Regions from separate parts of the Homo sapiens genome. Here region 2 is linked to region 1. Evidence: promoter capture Hi-C in 16 types of primary human blood cells and fetal thymus (Javierre and others, 2016). All regions are on one chromosome and are shown on one strand. Each heading gives the region's core, a stretch centred on a gene start or on the middle of the fragment in contact. The rest is flanking DNA. Distances are from core to core; before and after follow the strand shown. Region 1 holds the start of GAPT (GRB2 binding adaptor protein, transmembrane). Region 2 holds the start of ACTBL2 (actin beta like 2).

Region 1 (3,922 bases), core at 216-2,715:
GCTTCACAACTTCATAACCTCCTTCACTGTAAGATTTTTGTCCAGGACACCCCTATTCTGCCTTAACACCTTATTCTATGAGGCTTAGCTCAGGTCTTGCCTTCCCTGACCACCCTCTGAGCTGGATGCCTCTTTCCTTTACCTCCACTGTCCCTGTCCATAATCCTGTCTTTCTTAGGCATTATCACTTTGATCTGAAATGTTCTGTGGGCGCAGCAGCCTCTCTACTTGGCTTTAAGTGCTGCAGGGAGCTTATTCACTCTTGCATCCTCATCTCTTAGCACAATGCCTGGCATAATGTCAGTGCTCAGCAAGTGTTAATAATACGTCCTGTCCTTCCAATGTCCAGTAGTTATTTCAGTAACTAAATCCTCTTTTTTAAAACCACCTTATGCAAAGTTAATCCTCTGTGGTTCAAAAAGTTCCAAGACAACTTAAAAGACAAATTTTCCATTACTTTGTCATCTCATCTGTCGAATTCATCTGTAATTTGTCTAATTCAGCATCTCCCACTGTGTGTGTTCCCATGAGTTGGACTCCAAGAGATGCTCTTGGTAAGCGTATCTATGTGGGAAACATGTTACTCAATCTAGCAAGGCAGCCAGTGCAGTGGTTTAGCACACAGGTGCTGGGGGCAAACTGCAGGCTCTGTCGGGCAAGTGATCATTCTGTGTGCTTCTGTTTCCTCTTCTGTAAAATAGGACTAATAACAGTTTTTCTCCCTCACAGGGTTGTTGCCAAGATTTGCTGAGTATTACACAAAAGGTTTGGAGTACTTAGTGCTAGGAACATACTGACTACTATTATTAAGCAAAGTTAAACAATTTCTTTTTCTTATTTGGTTTTATTTTGTTTGCTGGCTGTAAGACTGCTGAGAGCCTTTAGCATGCTGATGTACCCATGAATCTCCAGGGAAGCAGTATTCCCCACATTTACTTGATGGAAGAGCTGCTAGCATATCTCAGGGGTAATGGGCCTCAAAACATACCTTAGGAAATTCCTATTTATAAATTTAAAAGAACGTTAACATTTTCCAAACCCAAATTGGGACACTGATTTGACCTGTATGGCTATAACTTGGGAGCATTGGTACATAATATTAATATTTGAAGAGAGGACTGGTCTAGCAACACAAGTAAATAATAATAATAATAATAAAAGCCCAAGACCTATGTGTTACTACAATTAAAATATTTCTTTTTTTAAAAAATCAAAGTACAAGTGAAGTGACTTTTATTGATATTAAAGTGGGAACTGCAAATATGGCCCAAATAAAAAACCATGTAGGCTTTACGTATTATTTTCTGACACAGTTAAAAAACTATTACTTGACAAAGATGAAGGGCCAGACTTCCTTATTCAAAACCTCACGCCATTTATCTTAATTCTGCTGCATCTGATACTGACTTCCTCTAGAGCCAGGAAACTTTGCAAGTATTAAATAGCGTGAACGAAGGAGGGAAAGAAGGAAGTAACCCACCAAAGTGAAAAAGAGGAACAAGTTCTAACCCAATGCAGGTTTAAAACATAACCAAAAGAACAAAAGAGAGAGCTTGACACACCAATCTTGAGGTAAGTAAGAACCTGATTTAAGGTATTTGGATGATTAAACACTATAAGAAACAAGTTTGTCTTTAATTAATCAATGATTTTTATCTTACTACAGTTTTTAGAAAAAAATGCCTTACGTAGCTGTAAGGGGGAAACCCAATTTACAAACTGAGAGTGATGTTAATGTTTCTTTACAATATGATTATGCTTTGCTGTTACCTTGTTTCCAAACAGCAGGGCATTCTCTTACTTGAAAATTCCTGAAGTTTCTCAACAATTTGCGATTTTAAGAAAAATGTCAAATTGTTAGGTAACCTGTTGGAACTGCTTTCCAAAATGAAAACAGAGTCTTCTTTCAAACTGGTCAAAGTGAACATTATTTAAGTGTTAAACTATATTTGAATGGTTATTGTTTAAAATATGTTTTTCATTATAGTAGGTCTTTGTTCATGTCTCACAGGTTTTTTCCTCTAATGTTATTTCGAAGAAAATGATGCATTTCTTTTTCTGTAAAAAGTCTTCTTGTCTTTATCTTGGTAAATATCTCTTAGACAAACAATTTTAATATTTTGGATGTACCAGAATTTCTACTCTACATAGAATAACATAGATGGTAAAAATGCCTTTTCTTCTTAAAAATTAAGAGAGTAATTTATTGCCTTATCCTCAGCTACAGAAGTGACAATAGTTAGCCTTCCTCAACCCTCACCGTGACTTCTGTTGCAGGCCTAGTATCTTTCAAAAAGTTGATTAATTTCAATCAATACTTAAAGTGTATTTTGTAAATTTATTTCAAATATTCTGGCAAATAACTTCTTAAATCATTAACCATGTATACCATAAAATATCTTGCAGATAATTGGTGCTCATCTGTTTCAGACAGGAAATGAGGTCCTAATGATTAAAGTCATTTGGCTAAACTTTTGTCCTTGAACACAAGCACGGCTGGCCTTATAAAGGAGGGACCCTGCAGATTGTAAATCTTATGTGGCGGACCATACAGTTCTCAACCTCAATATTACTCCCAAAAATTCCAAGGAGATTAAAATGTTTCTGCATCTGGGGTGCTTGTCCCTGTATTTTTATCAAAAAATTGTATAAATTAGCTGCACATCTTATTTAATTTTCTTTTATGAAATGTCAAATTAAATATTTGCATATTAATATATTCTAACCTTGGACAAATTTATGAACGTTCATTACCATTAAACTTTTCATGAAAACTCACTGAAAGCAGAGCACCACTTTGTGAATTTCTATTTTTCTTCTCATTGTTACTATTATTATCCCATAAGGAGATTACTTCATTCATTAACAAATGTCTAATAGATTAGTCATTCTGTGTCTAATGCTGGTGTTGGTAATACAAAGGTAAATAATATATGATTTCCAACCTTCGAGAACCTCAGAGCTAATCAAGCTATACAAATTTTCTGACTGATGCACTTAGTAGCATGTTACAGATATTTGGATAAATAATATTTTGGGGAAATTTTTACCTGAATTCTCATTCAGTCACATTTTGGTTGTAAGGAAGTTACTTAACTTCTTTAAGCCTCTCTTCTTATCTATAAAATGGTGATATGAATAGTACCCACTACATATAGCAGCTATAGGATTAAATGAGATAATCCCTGTAACAGTTTTTAAAAGCTGAAACTCTTAACTAAACATTATTGATGATAATAACATTCCATAGATGATAATAATCATTTCACAGGCACTGTTGGATCTATGTCTATGTCTAGACTGAAAATATACAGTAATAATGTTTTGTTGATAAAATCACAATGGAACATGCAGCCCAGTTGAACACTTCCCCTTCTTGTCTCCTTGCCATTTTAAAGCATCAACAGAAAACAATGTAAAATCATCTTGCATGGAAGTTATTTTCTGAAAGCTATGAGAAAACCTGTGATACTAAGGATTTTGAAAATACATTGGTTTACTTTAAAGATCTCATTTCATGTTTTAAGTATAAACTACACCCTTGAGTTTTAAACTATCATCTTAAGCAATTAGATGCTGACATTTGCAGTCATTTTTAAATGCATTATTTCATTCAATAAATATTGATTGGATGCATTTTCTGTGCTAGGTGTTGTGCCATTCTCTGGGAACATACAGATGAAATGACCTGAACCCTGCCCACCATTTAACCAAGTAAGAATACAATTCTCTCTCATTTAGGTTATCACGCTATAATAGAGAATGGACTCATTAATATGGGATTACAGAGGAAGGAATGGTTAAGAAAAAGACATGGCCTCTGACTGCTCCAAAAAAGGATAAGCAGGGCTTCACAGAAGAGGTGACAGGTAATAAAGATGATTGCACGTGTCTGTATATGTCCCTTTTTTTCTATTGTGCT
Region 2 (4,202 bases), core at 1,465-3,964, 1.0 Mb before region 1:
TGCATTTTAAAGATTATGTTGTCAGATAAAGCCAATAAGGAATAATCAAATTATTTGAAAAGTATTACCTTAAACAAAAAATTCTTACTGATTCCATTTTAAAGATTTATAACATAAGTACAAGTTTCCCAACTAAGAAAAAAAGAGAAGTGATTCCTTCCTCCAGAGTACCTTATAATGCCTGAATAAGCAATCCAAATAAATATTTTAAATTTTCAGAAATTACCCTGAAAAATACAAATAATGCTGATATCCAAATATTCAGAAATCACTGCATAGATTGGAATAAACATACTGGTACTTAAAATTGGTTAATAAATCATCACTGGAGTAACTAAAATATTTTAGACATTATAGGAACATACATTGATATTTTCAAAGATGTTAGTATCTCAGAGACACTTTGCATAAATAAGTATTGCTAGTTACTGGACATAATAAAGTAGAATTATTCTAAAAGCTTTCCAAGGATAAAACTGTGTTAGTATACTGGTAGTAAAATGTATAATTAATAAAGATGCTGCAGCTATATTTTCCCACAGTGAAATCCTTGCACAAGAGAAGTATCTGTAATCCTGGTCTACAGAAATTATTTAAGATGTGCTATTACACTAAGAAATAGAAATAAAATTACCTCTGTCAAATTGTACCATAATGACATTAATTTGATATTATAATATCTATCTCTCTTAAGAATTAGACATTGTCTGTAGTTTTGGTATGAGAAGGTTCAGTAAGAAAGATATTAAAATATAATTTGACCAGCAGAACTCCACTATGAGCTGAAAATTTAGATGATTTATAAACATTAATGGAATGGTGGCTGTCTCATTATGCTTATTTAGTAAGGGAAACAATTAAAATATGTACCTAGTACAACGATGACTTTTGGGAGTAAAGAAATTCACATTAGCTGTTCAGATAGCTAGATACATCAGCATATTTCACAATATATTTTATTTCCCTGGTGCTTATGTATATATGGATATTATTGAACTTTATAATTCATTATCTCCATACAAAGAAGTAAACAAAACAAAGATACTTAACTAGTAAGACACGGCTGCTAAATGCATACGCACCTTTTTTTTTTAAACAAGTTTATACAGCCTGTTCTTGTTAAATATTTTAGCGAGAACTAAGTTTTAAAGCTTGATAATTATAGTTATCCATTCTGAAATGACATTTCTCGTGATTTTACTCCTTGTCACTTATATGTATTTAAGCTGGCCTACCTATCTTTGAACAGTATAGGCAAAGAAAAAGGAATATGGTATTAGAATTCACCTTCACTTGATGGAGAACCGGATGTGGTTATCTGGGTAAGAGCCCAGGTTACTTGGATGGAGAGATGGGTTTGCTGGTTTACACTAGGAAGAGTGACGTATTTACCTCGATTCTACTGAAAGCGGATAAAAGCAGTACCATCACTGTGACCTAGGAAAAGGGAAAATGTAAGCCCACTAATATGGAAGCCCATTCAGAAACATTTTCTGTGAACGATAGGAGGACCAGCCTCATCATATTCCTGCTTACTGATCCACATCTGCTGGAATGTGGACAGGCTGGCAAGGATGGAGCCCCCAATCCAAACAGAATACTTCCGCTCTGGGGGAGCTATGATCTTGATTTTCATGGTGCTGGGTGCCAGGGTTATGATTTCTTTCTGCATCCTGTCAGCAATGCCTGGGTACATGGTGCTCCCTCCAGATAACACGGTGTTGGCATAGAGATCCTTGCGAATATCCACATCGCACTTCATGATAGAGTTGAAGGTTGTCTCATGGATCCCACTGGACTCAATGCCCAGAAAGGAAGGCTGGAAAATGGCTTCAGGGCATCGGAAGCGTTCATTCCCAATGGTGATCACCTGCCCATCAGGAAGTTCATAGCTCCGTTCCGGTGAGGAGGATGCGGCTGCCCTGACCATCTCCTGCTCAAAGTCCAGGGCTACGTAGCACAGCTTCTCTTTGACATCTCGCACAATCTCCCGCTCAGCAGTGGTGGTGAAGTTATAGCCTCGCTCTGTCAGGATCTTCATGAGGTAATCAGTCAGGTCTCTCCCTGCCAGATCCAGGCGTAGAATGGCATGAGGCAGGGCATAACCTTCATAGATGGGCACGATGTGAGTGACCCCATCCCCAGAATCCATCACGATGCCTGTGGTCCGTCCTGAGGCATAGAGGGACAGCACAGCCTGGATGGCGACATACATGGCTGGTGTGTTGAAAGCCTCGAACATGATCTGAGTCATCTTTTCCCGGTTGATCTTGGGGTTCAGGGGTGCCTCGGTGAGGAGGATGGGATGCTCATCTGGTGCCACACGGAGCTCATTGTAGAATGTGTGGTACCAGATCTTTTCCATATCGTCCCAGTTGGTGACCACTCCATGCTCGATAGGATACTTCAGGGTCAGGACGCCTCTCTTGCTCTGAGCCTCATCTCCCACGTAGCAGTCCTTCTGGCCCATGCCTACCATAACGCCCTGGTGTCGAGGACGCCCTATCATGGAGGGGAACACAGCCCGGGGGGCATCGTCACCACCAAAGCCTGCCTTGCACATCCCTGACCCATTATCCACTACCAAGGCAGACAGCTCATTGTCAGTCATGGTGCTGGCTGAGATCTTCCAGACGAGTGAACAGGACAAGTGAATAGACAGTGAGTAAGAGAAAGTGAACAGGCCTAAAACACTCCAGAAATGCTTTCAGACACGGGAGGCTGCACCGGGACCACAGGTATTTAAAGGAACACACTGACTCCGCCCATGTCCTACTCCACCAGTTCCCAGCATTTCTGGATGAGGTCATCTCTGAGGTATTAATGATGGTGATGATTACATAAACAATTAGATCTTTCTACATAAAGAGAAAATTGGCTGCCAAGTGGTCAAATCTCAGGTTCCTGTAATTAGGCAACCCACACATGACCGTCAGCCTGCCTGGTGAGGTCTCTAGATAACTATGATGATGCAGTGGGGGATATAAAAGCAAGATGAAAGAAAGCTGGTGCTAGGTATGGCAACACTGCTGGGAGGAAGGCTCCCTCCTTAGCGTCCCTGAGGATTCACTTTTCCTACACTAGCTTACCTTTTCATTCTTAAGATACTGTTCTGATGAGGGGTCTTACCCTGCAATCTTCACTTTTTCAAGATTTTTGTTTCCATTAGATTCCTAATCCCACAGGGTGTCATCATCGTAGAGACTGTTTTAGTAAATGAAAATAATAAATGGCTAAGGATGGCCTGATGGCTGTAATTACAATGCACTTGTGTCAAGCAAAATGTAGAGATATTTAATAGACTTCTAATCCATCAGAGATCAAGCGAAAGGAATAGAATGATTGCTAAAGTTAACCCATATAGATACTTTTTTCTGATATAAATTTCTAACAACCAAATTTCATTAAACATTTACTGTGTCTAGACATTGTTCATAGAACCAGGTTCATTGGGTCCATGTTAATTGTATAATGACTGAATGTCAACTATTTTGCATGATTTATTAAGATGCAGGTTATAAAAATTTATTTATTTGCAACAACTCTTGAGTTCTGCAACAATGGACAAAATGAAGTGATAAGACAAATTTGAAAAATTATATATTTAAACTAATCCTTAAAACATTTTGATCTTCAAGATACATATACTATATTATAACATTAAACCTCTATGTAGTTATTAAAATCTATACAATTAGAATTATACTAGCTTTCCTTCCATTTCAAGATATATTACACCCTGATCACTTCATAGCAACAATTTGTTTGGGTTCCATGTTTCATATAGAAATACAGACTACCTGAAAAGATGTGTATGATGGTAAAATGTAGGACATCAGCAATGTGTTACAGAGAAATAGCATTTAAGAAAGCTCATTACTTCTGCTCCCCTATGTGTTAGGCGAATAGAATATAATTATCTTTGTGAGCTCTTGTAAAGCAAAGAAATTTTCCATGTCTACATCTGAGTTCTCCAAAATAATCTTTATTTGGGTTCATCATTCATTCATTTACCCAATAAAGCTTGCTTTGTAAGAGGTAGCACAGCCCCTATTTACTGGACAAAAAACACCCTCCAGCTCAAGGCCAGGAGAACTAACCTGAGTCTTTGCCCAGTGAGCCTCTTGGAGAGTCATGGTGTAGCATCAAGCTGTGAGCATCCAGCCCTCTTCTTTGTCTATAGCTTGATATAGATTTATTTT

What was found. Contacts are between HindIII fragments. The CHiCAGO score rates a contact against its expected background, and 5 or more counts as called.
Region 2: a contact is called between the fragment with the promoter of ACTBL2 here and the fragment with the promoter of GAPT in region 1, in 4 of 17 cell types (naive CD4 T cells, fetal thymus, total CD4 T cells and 1 more). The highest score is 5.4, in naive CD4 T cells.

The regions. Positions count from the first base shown.
Region 1 is chr5:58,489,970-58,493,891 of GRCh38, forward strand. GAPT (GRB2 binding adaptor protein, transmembrane) reads left to right here and starts at 1,466. Exons shown (of 3, transcript NM_001304431.2): 1 at 1,466-1,572; 2 at 3,742-3,869. The HindIII fragment of the contact is 6,945 bases long and covers 1-3,922 here.
Region 2 is chr5:57,480,097-57,484,298 of GRCh38, forward strand. ACTBL2 (actin beta like 2) reads right to left here and starts at 2,715. Exons shown (of 1, transcript NM_001017992.4): 1 at 1-2,715. The coding sequence starts at 2,611. The coding sequence ends at 1,481. The region is part of intron 1 of RMEL3 (enriched in melanoma 3); the gene reads left to right. The HindIII fragment of the contact is 2,872 bases long and covers 1,150-4,021 here.